3 separate regions of the Homo sapiens genome follow, and regions 2 and 3 are each linked to region 1. The links are contacts of gene promoters, found by promoter capture Hi-C in blood cells and fetal thymus (Javierre and others, 2016). All regions are on one chromosome and are shown on one strand. The core of a region is centred on a gene start or on the middle of the fragment in contact, and the rest is flanking DNA. Distances in the headings are between cores, read along the strand shown. Region 1 holds the start of NHLH1 (nescient helix-loop-helix 1). Region 2 overlaps CD48 (CD48 molecule). Region 3 has its middle 4.7 kb from the start of IGSF8.

Region 1 (3,723 bases), core at 489-2,988:
GGCCCCTCTCCACCCTTGCTGCCTGAGGTGGAGGAGCGGATAAACACACAGATTGCCCATTGTAGAATAGACTAGGACATATGGAGCTCTGCGCAGCTGCCCCAGCTCTGCACAGCTCCCCTCCCAGTTCCCCAAACCTTCCCAGCAGAACCATTGTAGATATGAGATCCTGTCCACTAAAACCAGGGGAAGATATCTCTTCTCACCACCACCCCACTGTGCACAACCAGCCTCTTCCTCCACCTCTGTCTTCGAAATTTTCAGCCCTTGCCATTCCCTGGCCCTTTTGGAGGCTGGGCAAGGAAGATTGGGGAAAGGGAACATAATCAACCTTCTACCCCCATACTCTCCCATAGCCCAAGGAAGGTTCAGACACGGCCTGCAGAGGACACAGACAGATTTTTGGAGCTACCCTTATGGGACTCAGCTAAGGTTTGCTTGTCCTAGGACCAGAGGAGATCAGGGCAAGGCAGCACAAACATGGCCTGGGAAAAGCTGGGGAAAGGGCTTTGCTTGTGTGCAGTGTTAAAGGGGAACAGTGGGCCACTCACCATCAGCTCAACTAAGAATGATTAGAAACAGAAGCACCAAGGTGCCTGCACCATCACTATCTCCCCTTCCTCCCCAGCCCTGGCTTTCCTGTCTGATAGATACTCTCAAAGGGGTTAGGATCCTCCCAAGCCTTGCCCCACCCCACCACACAGAAGATAGGTTCAAGTCAAGCCAACAAACAGCTATGAAGCTCTGGAGGGATGCAAAGTCATCCACATCTGATGACAAGTACACACACAATCTTAACAGGAAACAGAAGGTGGTTAGTGCTGAAATTGAGAACACATTCCATATTCTGGGGTTCAAATGAACTATGGGGGGATGGCAATAGTGTGGGAGGCCCCAAAGTCAGCACCTCCCAGTACATGTTTAGTGCCCCCAACTCCCCACCCCCCATGCTGGGGCTGGGAGCAGGAGTTCAGCTGCGGAGTTCCCAACACATTTATCACATCTATCACAGGCTAATTCTCTCTGCCCGGTCCCTATGTTCCTTCATCCCTCATCACTTTGCCATGCCCTTCCTTCCCCTCTCCGTGCTCCCCATCTGGCCCCAGTCTCATCTCCACCTGGCCCCATTGTCCTCCCCAGTTCCAGTCCCGGCAGCAGCTTCTATTTACCCATCAAGTCCTCACCCCCAAATCCACTTCTGGTCTCAAAGTTCCAGGGTCCAAGGATCAGGGGAGCAGCAATTCCAAGCCTGCAGGACAGGACTTCCCACCCCACTTCTGCCAGCCCTAACCCAACTGAGGATAGATAGGCACAAAGAGTCGAAGGGGAGGAGTGGAGAAGAGGGACACGCGGAGACAGGGAGAGACACAGCGCACAAGGGAGAGAACTAGAGGGAGGCTCTAGGAAGGGGCTTGAGCCAGAGAATGGGAGGGACACGCCCATCCCTCCCCGCCCATGGTTTCCCCTTTACCTAGAAGGACCCTGTCAGGGGATCCAAGCCGGCAGGACAAGGGGCAGCGTTGACAGCCCCAGTCTCCTCTGGGTGCTCAAGGCTCATCCGTCTGCAAAGTTAGTGACCAGCTTTCTAGACTCTCAGGGGTAGCGTGGCATGGCTGTACAGGCTCCAGGGCAGATAAGAGGGGTACACATTGTGGGGGTGTAGGGCCCAGGTGGAAGTGGTGGGCTTGGCCAGGTACTGGGGCCAGCCACACTCACACACACACCCTCAGACACACACACCTGAGCTGGCCCAGCCCTATGTATATATATGGAGATACACACACACACCCCCAGCTCTCCATTGGCTGGCCCAGGCCCACCCCCCCCTCATCAATATTAAACAGCCAGGCCAGGCAGCCATTGGCAGAGGGATCTGGGAACCCCTCGGGAGCTGGGGGCGGGGGCTGGCCCTGGGTGGGGGCGGGGAGCGGGGGAGCAGGGACATCTGTTCTCCATGCATATTTCATAAGCAAGAAATGGAGAGCTGGGGAAGGGGTGGGGCTGGGGCGAGAGCCAGGGCAGGACCACAGATGAACCCCCTCAGTCTCCCACACCAGAGGCAGCAGGGCAGAGGCTCCCAGCAAGCTATGGTTAAGTGCCATGGCCCCATTCGGAGTCCCAGCGTGACTTGGACAGCCCCTTCCTGGTGTCTCTTTTTTCCTGAGAGGGAGACTCTTCAAGGTACTAACAGGGAAACCGAGAAAAGAGCAAGTGGGTAGCACTAAAATGCAGAAGAGGACCCTAGGGTCCTGGCCCTCAAGCTCTTATCCTTCATAAAGCTGGTACCCACTGCTTGCCAGCCTGCCTGTAGCAACTGTTCAGGCCCCTACCCTCATCACCCTGGGACTCAATCACCCCCATACCCTCTTACCCCACCCGCTATCTTCCTACCTAACCCATCACCAAGGGGAGGAGCAGGATCAAATTTGGGACACAGACCCCACAAGGAGTTTTTCTAGGCTGGCCAGCCCAACCTGACCCACTGGGAATTAGAGGGCTCTTAGGAAGAAAGAGGTAAGGGCTAAAAGGAGAGGAGTGGAGGAGTGCCAAGACAGGAAGAACCAGGATTGGAAGGACACTGGGAGAGGAGGGCAGGGCAGCCTAGGCAGGCTCTGAGTGTGTTTTGAGGGCATCAAATCAGCAATAAGAAAACCAGACACAAAATTATATGCAAATGGGCACTGATTAAGCTCCCATCAATAGCTCAGCAGCCTCCAGCATGTATATGCAAGTGTGTGTGAATGTGAATGTAAGTGTGAGTGTGTGTGTGTATGTGTGTGTTGCCGAGTGGCAGGATTGAGGAGGGGCAGCACAGGGACCAGAGTGCATAGAGAGACAGTGCATAGAGGGTTTCAGTGTCTGAAGTTCTCTCCCCACTCAGCTGTTGGATGTCTTCTCTGAACCTTTGAGAGTATTCAAAAGAACCATGACTGGAGAGGACTCCAGAGGTAGTGTGGTACAGTGAAAAAGGCTCTGTCAGCTGTGTGACCTTGGACAAATAACAACCTTTTGAGCCTGGACCTCTTTTCCTGTAAAATGGGGTTGATTATAGCTGCTTCTTAGGTTGCCATGGAAATTAAGGGAGATAATATGTGTAGTGGGCCTAGAGCTTAGTAGGAGCACATCCCACCTTCAGGCTGGAGGGACTTGCCATTTCCCTGTTGCTGGTCAACCTTTTCTGGGCTTTCTCCAGGGTGAAGCATTCCCTAAGGGGGTCCCATAATTCCTCCCCAAGCTCCCCCACCTGCCCCCATCCCTGAGTCTGGGAGGTGCCAACTCCCACCTGGGCAGGCCCAGACAGGTGCCCAGGCGCCAGCAGATGGGCTGAGCTGGAGGGGAAAGGAGGCTTGAGGAGGGGGGCTGGGGGGCAGGGGATCAGGTGGCATCTCAGTTCTTGCATCATCATTGCCATGGTGCTGATTAAAAACCAATCTCCACCTAATGAGCCCCCAGCAACAACAATTCTACCTCCTCCACTCTCCTGCCCTCCACCCCATCCAAGAAATTGGGAGACCAAGAGACTCAGGAGAGAGTGCCATGGGGGAGATGAGAGATACAGAAAGAAGGGGAGATGAACAGAGACAGGGGAAGCGGAGGGAAACGACGAGAAAGACACGGGAAGATACCGAGACTCAGGGAGAGAAAAAAATGAGAAACCAGAGTCATTGGGTAACAGACATGGGAAAGACATAGGGAAATGGGAAGACACAGTCTCATGGGGAG
Region 2 (3,723 bases), core at 150-2,649, 310 kb before region 1:
CCTTTGTTCTTTGTTGGCTAAACCTTCACAGCATGAATGCCTCACTGTCTCATCTTATAACATCCTCCTCACTTTCAGACCCTGTACCCAAGCCTGTCATCAAAATTGAGAAGATAGAAGACATGGATGACAACTGTTATCTGAAACTGTCATGTGTGATACCTGGCGAGTCTGTAAACTACACCTGGTATGGGGACAAAAGGCCCTTCCCAAAGGAGCTCCAGAACAGTGTGCTTGAAACCACCCTTATGCCACATAATTACTCCAGGTGTTATACTTGCCAAGTCAGCAATTCTGTGAGCAGCAAGAATGGCACGGTCTGCCTCAGTCCACCCTGTACCCTGGGTAAGAAGGATCCCTGGGAGCTGAGGGGGGCACAGGGTAACTGGAGTTGTTTTGAACAAAGAAAGGCTGGGGGTCCTATTCAGCCTCCTTGCACAGTGTGGTGGTGAATCCCTAAGGTGTCTGGGAGAGCTGGGAGACGTGGGTTCTGCCACCAGCTCTACCACCACCTCCCAGCCAGCTTACCTCAACTTCGTGGGGGCTCAGTGTTCTCACCTGCAAAGGACGTTTGGGAGAGATCTCTGATACTCCTCTTCCCTCTCCCGCTCTAACAAAGCATAGTCCTAACATCTGAGGCCAGGGTCATCATAGAGTAGACTGAAACATCAGGGTGAGCAGGGAGAAGGAAGGGCAAGTGGGCGAGCAGCTGTCTAGAGGGGCTTCATTAGACAGCCGAAGTCAGCCAAGGAAAGAGGGACCGAGGTCATTAGACCGCCAAAGTCAGCCAGGGAAAGAGGGACTGAGGAGACGGGCCTGAGAGAGGCCGTCGAGGAGGCGTGAGAGCCTGAGCCTCAGGCGAAGCTTCTCCTCCCCAGCCTGATGTTCCTAGATGAACTTAGGAAGCCAGATTCCCCTGTCTCCTGGGAGGATCCACTCATGAGTGTCACACCTGGCTCTAGATCAGGCCTACACTGGTGCTAGCATGGGACAGCTAAGGCCATGGGTTTTAGAGTCAGTCATACCTGGGGTCACTTCTAGGACTGTCACTTACTAGCTAAACAAGTTACTTAGCTTCCCCAAGTCATGTTCTTCCTAAATAAAGGACAAAATAACAGTTCCTATCTCGTGCTAAGGATTCAATGAGACAAGACACGTAACTGCCTATCACAGTGGCTGACAAGTCCTTAGTAAGCGGGAGCTAAATGAGACGCAGTCTCTTAGAGTTTTGGGGACCCTTAATAAACTTGGATCAATATCTCCAGCACTCTGGGAAATACCAGAGTCAGATACCCTCCACAATCCTGAAGTCAGATCCCTGAGCCCTAGCGTACACATTCTTCTAGAATAACTCAGACCTGAGGTGCTCACATTCACCTGTGACCCCTGTCATGCCCAGTCATCAGGGATTCTGGCCTCTGAGAACGTTGCTGTTTTGTGGTCTTCCTGGGCTCTGTCTACCCTCCTTAACTGCACTGATTTCTTTATCTCTACTCCCACATGTGGACTACGGAGACTGTGTATGCTCTTCCTTATTCTTCCTAACTAATTGGCCCTGTCTCTACCAGCCTCTCCTGATATGCCTTGCTCTTCTGCCACCACAGACCCACTGTGACAGTGTGGTATCTGACCATGAGAACACAATTTGGCTGGTGGTTCCAACACCACCCTCATATCAATATCACATCCTGAGATCCAGAAAAAGGAAGACGCACATTCCCTGTCCTCTATAAAATGGGTGTGACTGTTCATCCGAAGAGAGGATAAAAGCAATAATAAATCCATTTTTTTTGGAAGGGTAAACCCATCTGTCACTTTTTAGTCACCGAAATTATCCTAGAAAGCCCCCTCAAACTCCTTTCCCTACTGTATCACTCATTCCTTTTTTTTATTTTCTCCAGCTCAGCCCTTCCCCACCCCAGCATCTAAGCTTTCCTTCCATCCTTTTTCTTTTCCTTTCCTTTTCTGTCTTCCTTTCTCTTCCCTTCTTCTTCCTAGTTGGTGCAGATACTTAGTGGGGTAGAGAAACAAGGAAAGGAAGTGGTCCTTTTCTCTCTAAAGTCAGCTGTGCATTGTATCATGTGGTCATCTGTCTGTACCTGAAGATCTACCCTACCTCGTTGATGTCCAGAGTAGGGGAGCAATGCTTTCCCAGGCCACAGATATGTCGAGGTAACCTTTGAGCACAGGGCCCAGGTAAGCCAGTGATATTTAAGGAATTTCTGCATTTTTTATACTTTATGTTTGGGGAGATTGAGGAAAAGAATGTCCCAGCCAAATAGGATGGGATTCAGGGAAGAAATTAATTTCCCTGCTCTGTGAGCTCCCACACCAGTGTCCAGTACACTTGCCCCTTCTCAATACATTAGTCAAGATAAAGATACCTAAGCATATAGGGTTTTCTTGCTCTTTCAGCCCGGTCCTTTGGAGTAGAATGGATTGCAAGTTGGCTAGTGGTCACGGTGCCCACCATTCTTGGCCTGTTACTTACCTGAGATGAGCTCTTTTAACTCAAGCGAAACTTCAAGGCCAGAAGATCTTGCCTGTTGGTGATCATGCTCCTCACCAGGACAGAGACTGTATAGGCTGACCAGAAGCATGCTGCTGAATTATCAACGAGGATTTTCAAGTTAACTTTTAAATACTGGTTATTATTTAATTTTATATCCCTTTGTTGTTTTCTAGTACACAGAGATATAGAGATACACATGCTTTTTTCCCACCCAAAATTGTGACAACATTATGTGAATGTTTTATTATTTTTTAAAATAAACATTTGATATAATTGTCAATTAACTGAATTCCTGAAGTTGTCCCAAATCTGTCAGACAGTGCCTGCTCCATCAGCTGGGAGAAACTGGAATCTGGAGACACAGAGGGGAGAGCCTGGAGCCACCGGCTCCTGTGTGTCAACACAGCTGAGGAGCCAATTTGTGCTACTTCTGACCCTTATTCCAACATCCATGCTAAGCTTCCTGGGGCTCCAGCTCCCCTGCCAAGCCTTTGCCTCCTTCCCAGTGGCTTGCCTTGCTCTGACCCCTCTGAGGACCACTCTCCTTAAGTCTGCTGCAAACATAGGTTCAGGCTTGCTCTCGCAGAAGGAAGGATGCAGCTCTATCTCATAAGAAGCCTTCCTGCCCCACAAGCCTCGCATAGGGAGCTGAATTCTCTCTCCTCTTTTCCATTGACTGTGTGGGCAAGTCTTCAACTCCTAGTCGTTTCACTGGATCCAAAAAAACCATCAGATCGACACAGTGTTCTCACCAGAGTTGTCCACTATATGCAGGTAGGCGCCCCCAGGCCCACCACTGACATAACACCTGGGATTTTTGCTTAATGTCCCCTCCTCTAAGTCTCCTCATGTGCCTGGAGCTGAAAGGGTCACTACAGAATGCACTTCCCCTTCAGAAAACTGCCCACCACAGACTGCTTGCCTTTCAAACCAGACCAGCCTCCCCCATCTCCCTCGTGGCCCTTCCCTCCTCACCCCATCTCCTCGGTGACAGATACAGTGCTATGTGTTTGCCAAACCTTCTCATTTTCCCCTGGGTGAGTGAAAAAACTCTTTTTCCCAGCTACTTTTGTGTTTAGCTGGAGCCATGTGATGAAATCTGTCCAATAGAAAGTGGGCGGCATGGATGTGGCAGGAGTGAAGGACTTCGGAAGTCTGGCTATATGATGCAAGGAACTGCATCGGAGCCATTGTTTGGAAGGCAGCTGCCT
Region 3 (3,723 bases), core at 819-3,318, 260 kb after region 1:
ATTACAGGTGTGAGCCACTGTGCCTGGCTTGGGCAAATTTTTTAGCTTTTCTGAACTTCAATTTTTTTTAACAGCTCTAACTTATAGAGTCATTTTGAGAATTACAGTGCCCAGTGAAGGTTAGCAATTATTTTATGCCCTTGATTTCCAATGTCCTGGCCTTCAGACTGTGATTTCTTTTTCAGCTTGATCTGATCTCCAGCGTCCTTCCCGCCCTACAGGACAGAACTCAGCCCTTCCTAGGCTGCTTAGGAAGCCAGCCTGGTTGTTTCCTGAGGGGTGGAAGGTTCAGGTTCTGAAATAAGAGGAGGAACTTTCTATCAGCTGTAGATGGAAGTGACTAGTGTATGATGGACTCCAGAGGAACTAACAGTGTCCACTGTGGAGGTGACATGACCACAAGAGAGGAAGGGCCCAGATTCCTTCTCTTGTCACTCGGCATGTCCTCACTTCCTCAGTCACACAGCAAATGTCTGTTGAGCTTCTACTCCTTGCCAGGAAACTCTGTAGGCTTTGGGGAAAGGCAAAAAAGAGTTAACAGTGGCTTTGAGAAGCTCACAGCCAGGATGGAGAGGCAGATATAAACAAGCACTGTAATTACAATGCAGAGTGGGAAACTCTACCAAGGAGCTGAGAACAGGGTGCAGTGGGAGCAAGGGGGTGGGTCGCGTTAGCATCAAAACTCTGGGCCCCCGCTCTCTCCCATGGCCAGCTCGGTCACCCCCACTGTTCCATCTGTTTCTTTGTTTTTTCAGAGTCTTTATTTCTGGCTTTGTTTTCCCTTCACTTTCCTAATAGAGAGCCTTTGGAAAAATTCCACCCTTGTTTCAGTTGGAACAGGGAAAAGGAGAATTGTCTACTCTTCAGCCAAAATAACCAAGGGGTGCCGGGTTCCTGGAGAGTCCAGGTGGACAAGCAGAGGAAGCAGGGACTGTCCCGAGGGAGCCAGGGGAGAGCCTGCAGCGCGGCAGGCATGGGGCAGGGAGAGGTGAAAACACAGGATGAGCTGTGCCTGGCTGGAAGGCCCAGGTGGCTGTGTGCCTCGAGTCCTCTTCCAGAGCTCTCTCTGCATCTCCTGTCCTCTGTTCTGATTGGAAGAGAGAGTTGAGACTTCTTCCACTTCAGAGAATCCTGTAAAGCCTGGTTACATTGCTCTTTTCCCACCCAGGTAGCTGTGAAGGGCTGGGACCCCAGAGTTAGAAGTGAGTCTTTGACATTATTCACAGCAGAGGGCTGTGTATGTGTGTGTCTGTGTGTGTGTGTGTGTGTGTGTGTGAAATCCCTCCTTTCCCCTCCCTCTTTCCCCATACCACCACACACACAACGCTCATTGTTCCCTGGGCCTTCAATTCTGCATTCATCCATTCAACACATATTTATTGAACACTCACTATGTGCTGGAAGCTGGAGCTGTGTAGTGGAAAAAGTTATTTCAGAAGGTTGCATAGGCACCAGATATGCATGTGTGTGCCTGAATATATGCACATGTATGTATGAATCAATGTGGGCAGGCTAGGGAAACAGGAGGAAGAAGGGAAGAAGAATGTTTGGGAAACTGAAGTTTGGGCATCAGGTAGCTTGCATTTGCATCTGGGTGCTACCATTTGCTAGCTGTGTGACCTCGGGTAAATTATATGAGCTTTCTGTGCTTCTGTCTCCCAGCTGTAAAATAGAGATACTCGTAGTATTCACCTCATGGGGTTGTTGTGAAAGCTGAATGAATGAATGTGCACAGAGTGTGTGCAACGGTGCCCAGCATGAAGTAGGTGCTCTGTAGGTATTAGTAATTGTTCCCTTCTCACCCCACTCAGAGCTGGGTGGAGACAAACTCGTAAATGACTGGCAGTCACCTGGTGCTACCCACCTCCTGCCCCCTGAGGCTCATCTACAACACTCAGCCCACAAACCTCTGTCTAACCAAACCACTGCCATCTCCTGCCCTTGGCTGACCCCCACCCCACCCTAGGCTGCTCAGGGTAGAGAAGAAGTAATATCACACAGTGGGGGTTGCTTCAGTCCCACGCTACCCTCCAGACATATATCTGAGCTGTCAGTTCCCTCTTAGCAGACTGGGAATGGAGAAGTGGGATGGGTGAGCATCTGGGGCGGAGCCCAGGCTCCCAGCACCCACCCGATGGGACTGGGGAACAAAGAACTTGTCAGGAGGTCAGAAGGGAGACCGAGGGGATTCCAGCTCTGAGGAATCCATGTGTGGCATTTGAGCGTGGGTGGCAGCTGGCACGAATCCTTGGTTCAGAACTGGCAGGGCCCCCTCAGGAGTCAGGGCCAGGTCGTGCCAAAGCCCCAGTGGCATCGCGGCTCTGCTATTCCTGAACAGCTGTGCTGCTCCCCTTGGCATAGGGTTCAAGAATGGGGGCAGGAGTGTGGGCCTAGCCAGGGAAAGAGGAGGGTTCAGAGAGTAGACACACACACACACACACACACACACACACACACACACACACACAGTTCACCATGAAGGTGCAGATGCCTGGCTCAGGGAGAAAAGAGGGGAGGGAGAGGGTGGAAAGCGAATGTGTGTGTGTGTGTCGGGGGGGAGATGGCTTTGTGGTTCTGTGAGTGTGTTTGGTGTTTGGGTGTGCATAATGTCTCTGTGTTTATCTTTGTGTGTGCACTTCTGTTTCAGTGTGTCTCTGAATGAGTTTGTTATCAGGGCGAGGGTAGGTTTCTGCACTACTTCTGTCTCTGACTCTGCTTGAGCCTCTCAGCAACTCAGCAGAGAGAATCTTCCCTTCTGGGAGGGTGGGAAAATATAGCTCATCAGGGCAGTATGGGCCAATGCTTTATAAACACACACAAATCACAGGACATTCTTGTGTGTGATCCTTAGCTCCCCACAAAGCTACGGTTGATACACATTTAAAAGAGAGAGAGCTGAGTCCTATGTGTATGCTTGTGCCATTTCTATATGTCTGACAGTCTGACGAGCATGTGTGCTTATGTATTTGATGTATTTGTCACTTTGTCCCCACGGCAGTATCTGTGTCTACAGCTTGGTGTATACTCATGTGTGCTAAGCCCATATTTAACTGTGTCCCTAGTGACGTTTGTCTTTAAGCAGCAACATAACAGGAGTTAGAAGCACAGGCTCCACAGTGAGGCGATCCATTTCGAATCCCTGTGTGGACAGTAACTAATGCATTAACCTTGGACAAGTTTCTTAACTTTTCTATGCCTCAGTTTTCTCACAGGGATAATAATAGCACATGAGGATAAATGAGATCACATTTAGTGCCTGACACAGGTCAGCATATGTGAATGGTCCTGTCTTTGAACGTGCTCCTCTCTGAGAGCTGTCTGCTTGGTTGTGACTGTGGTGTGTCACATCTCAGCTGGATTATAAACTGCTTTTGGGCAGAGCGTGGGTCTCAATTATCTTTAACAATACTCATGACACCTCAGTGTCACCTTGGTGTCTTGTGTATATGTCATCTTGAGGTGAAATGAGACCTGTTTCATGTGAAACAGGACGGGTGTCGGATGCAGGCCCATGCCTGGGGTAGTACATGGAGGGCAGGTGGGAAGCTGGTGATGGCAGTGACAACACAGCCCAGCCGGGCATCAGGGTCCCTCATGGTCACTACTGCATACCTGCCAGGTCTCTCTGCAAACCCAGGCTCCCTCCTCCTTCGTGTCTCAGTCTGGCCTGGAAACTCACTGAAGGGCTTCCTTCCTCCTTTCTCTGCTCACCCCACCCTCGGG

What was found. The method cuts DNA at HindIII sites, captures the fragments that hold promoters and counts their contacts. A CHiCAGO score of 5 or more calls a contact.
Region 2: a contact is called between a fragment that was not itself captured here and the fragment with the promoter of NHLH1 in region 1, in 1 of 17 cell types (naive B cells). The highest score is 5.5, in naive B cells.
Region 3: a fragment that was not itself captured here is called in contact with the fragment with the promoter of NHLH1 in region 1 in 7 of 17 cell types (erythroblasts, M0 macrophages, naive CD4 T cells and 4 more); the score reaches 6.8 in erythroblasts.

What each region holds. Positions count from the first base shown.
Region 1 is chr1:160,365,086-160,368,808 of GRCh38, reverse strand. NHLH1 (nescient helix-loop-helix 1) reads right to left here and starts at 1,738. Exons shown (of 2, transcript NM_005598.4): 1 at 1,472-1,738. The HindIII fragment of the contact is 14,453 bases long and covers 1-3,723 here.
Region 2 is chr1:160,677,824-160,681,546 of GRCh38, reverse strand. It overlaps CD48 (CD48 molecule), which reads left to right. Exons shown (of 4, transcript NM_001778.4): 3 at 79-345; 4 at 2,416-2,801. The coding sequence ends at 2,495. Among named protein-coding and RNA genes, the nearest start is that of CD48, 32 kb to the left of the region's middle. RefSeq lists an enhancer at 24-113. The HindIII fragment of the contact is 1,066 bases long and covers 867-1,932 here.
Region 3 is chr1:160,101,435-160,105,157 of GRCh38, reverse strand. No RefSeq gene overlaps it. Among named protein-coding and RNA genes, the nearest start is that of IGSF8, 4.7 kb to the right of the region's middle. The HindIII fragment of the contact is 5,335 bases long and covers 1-3,723 here.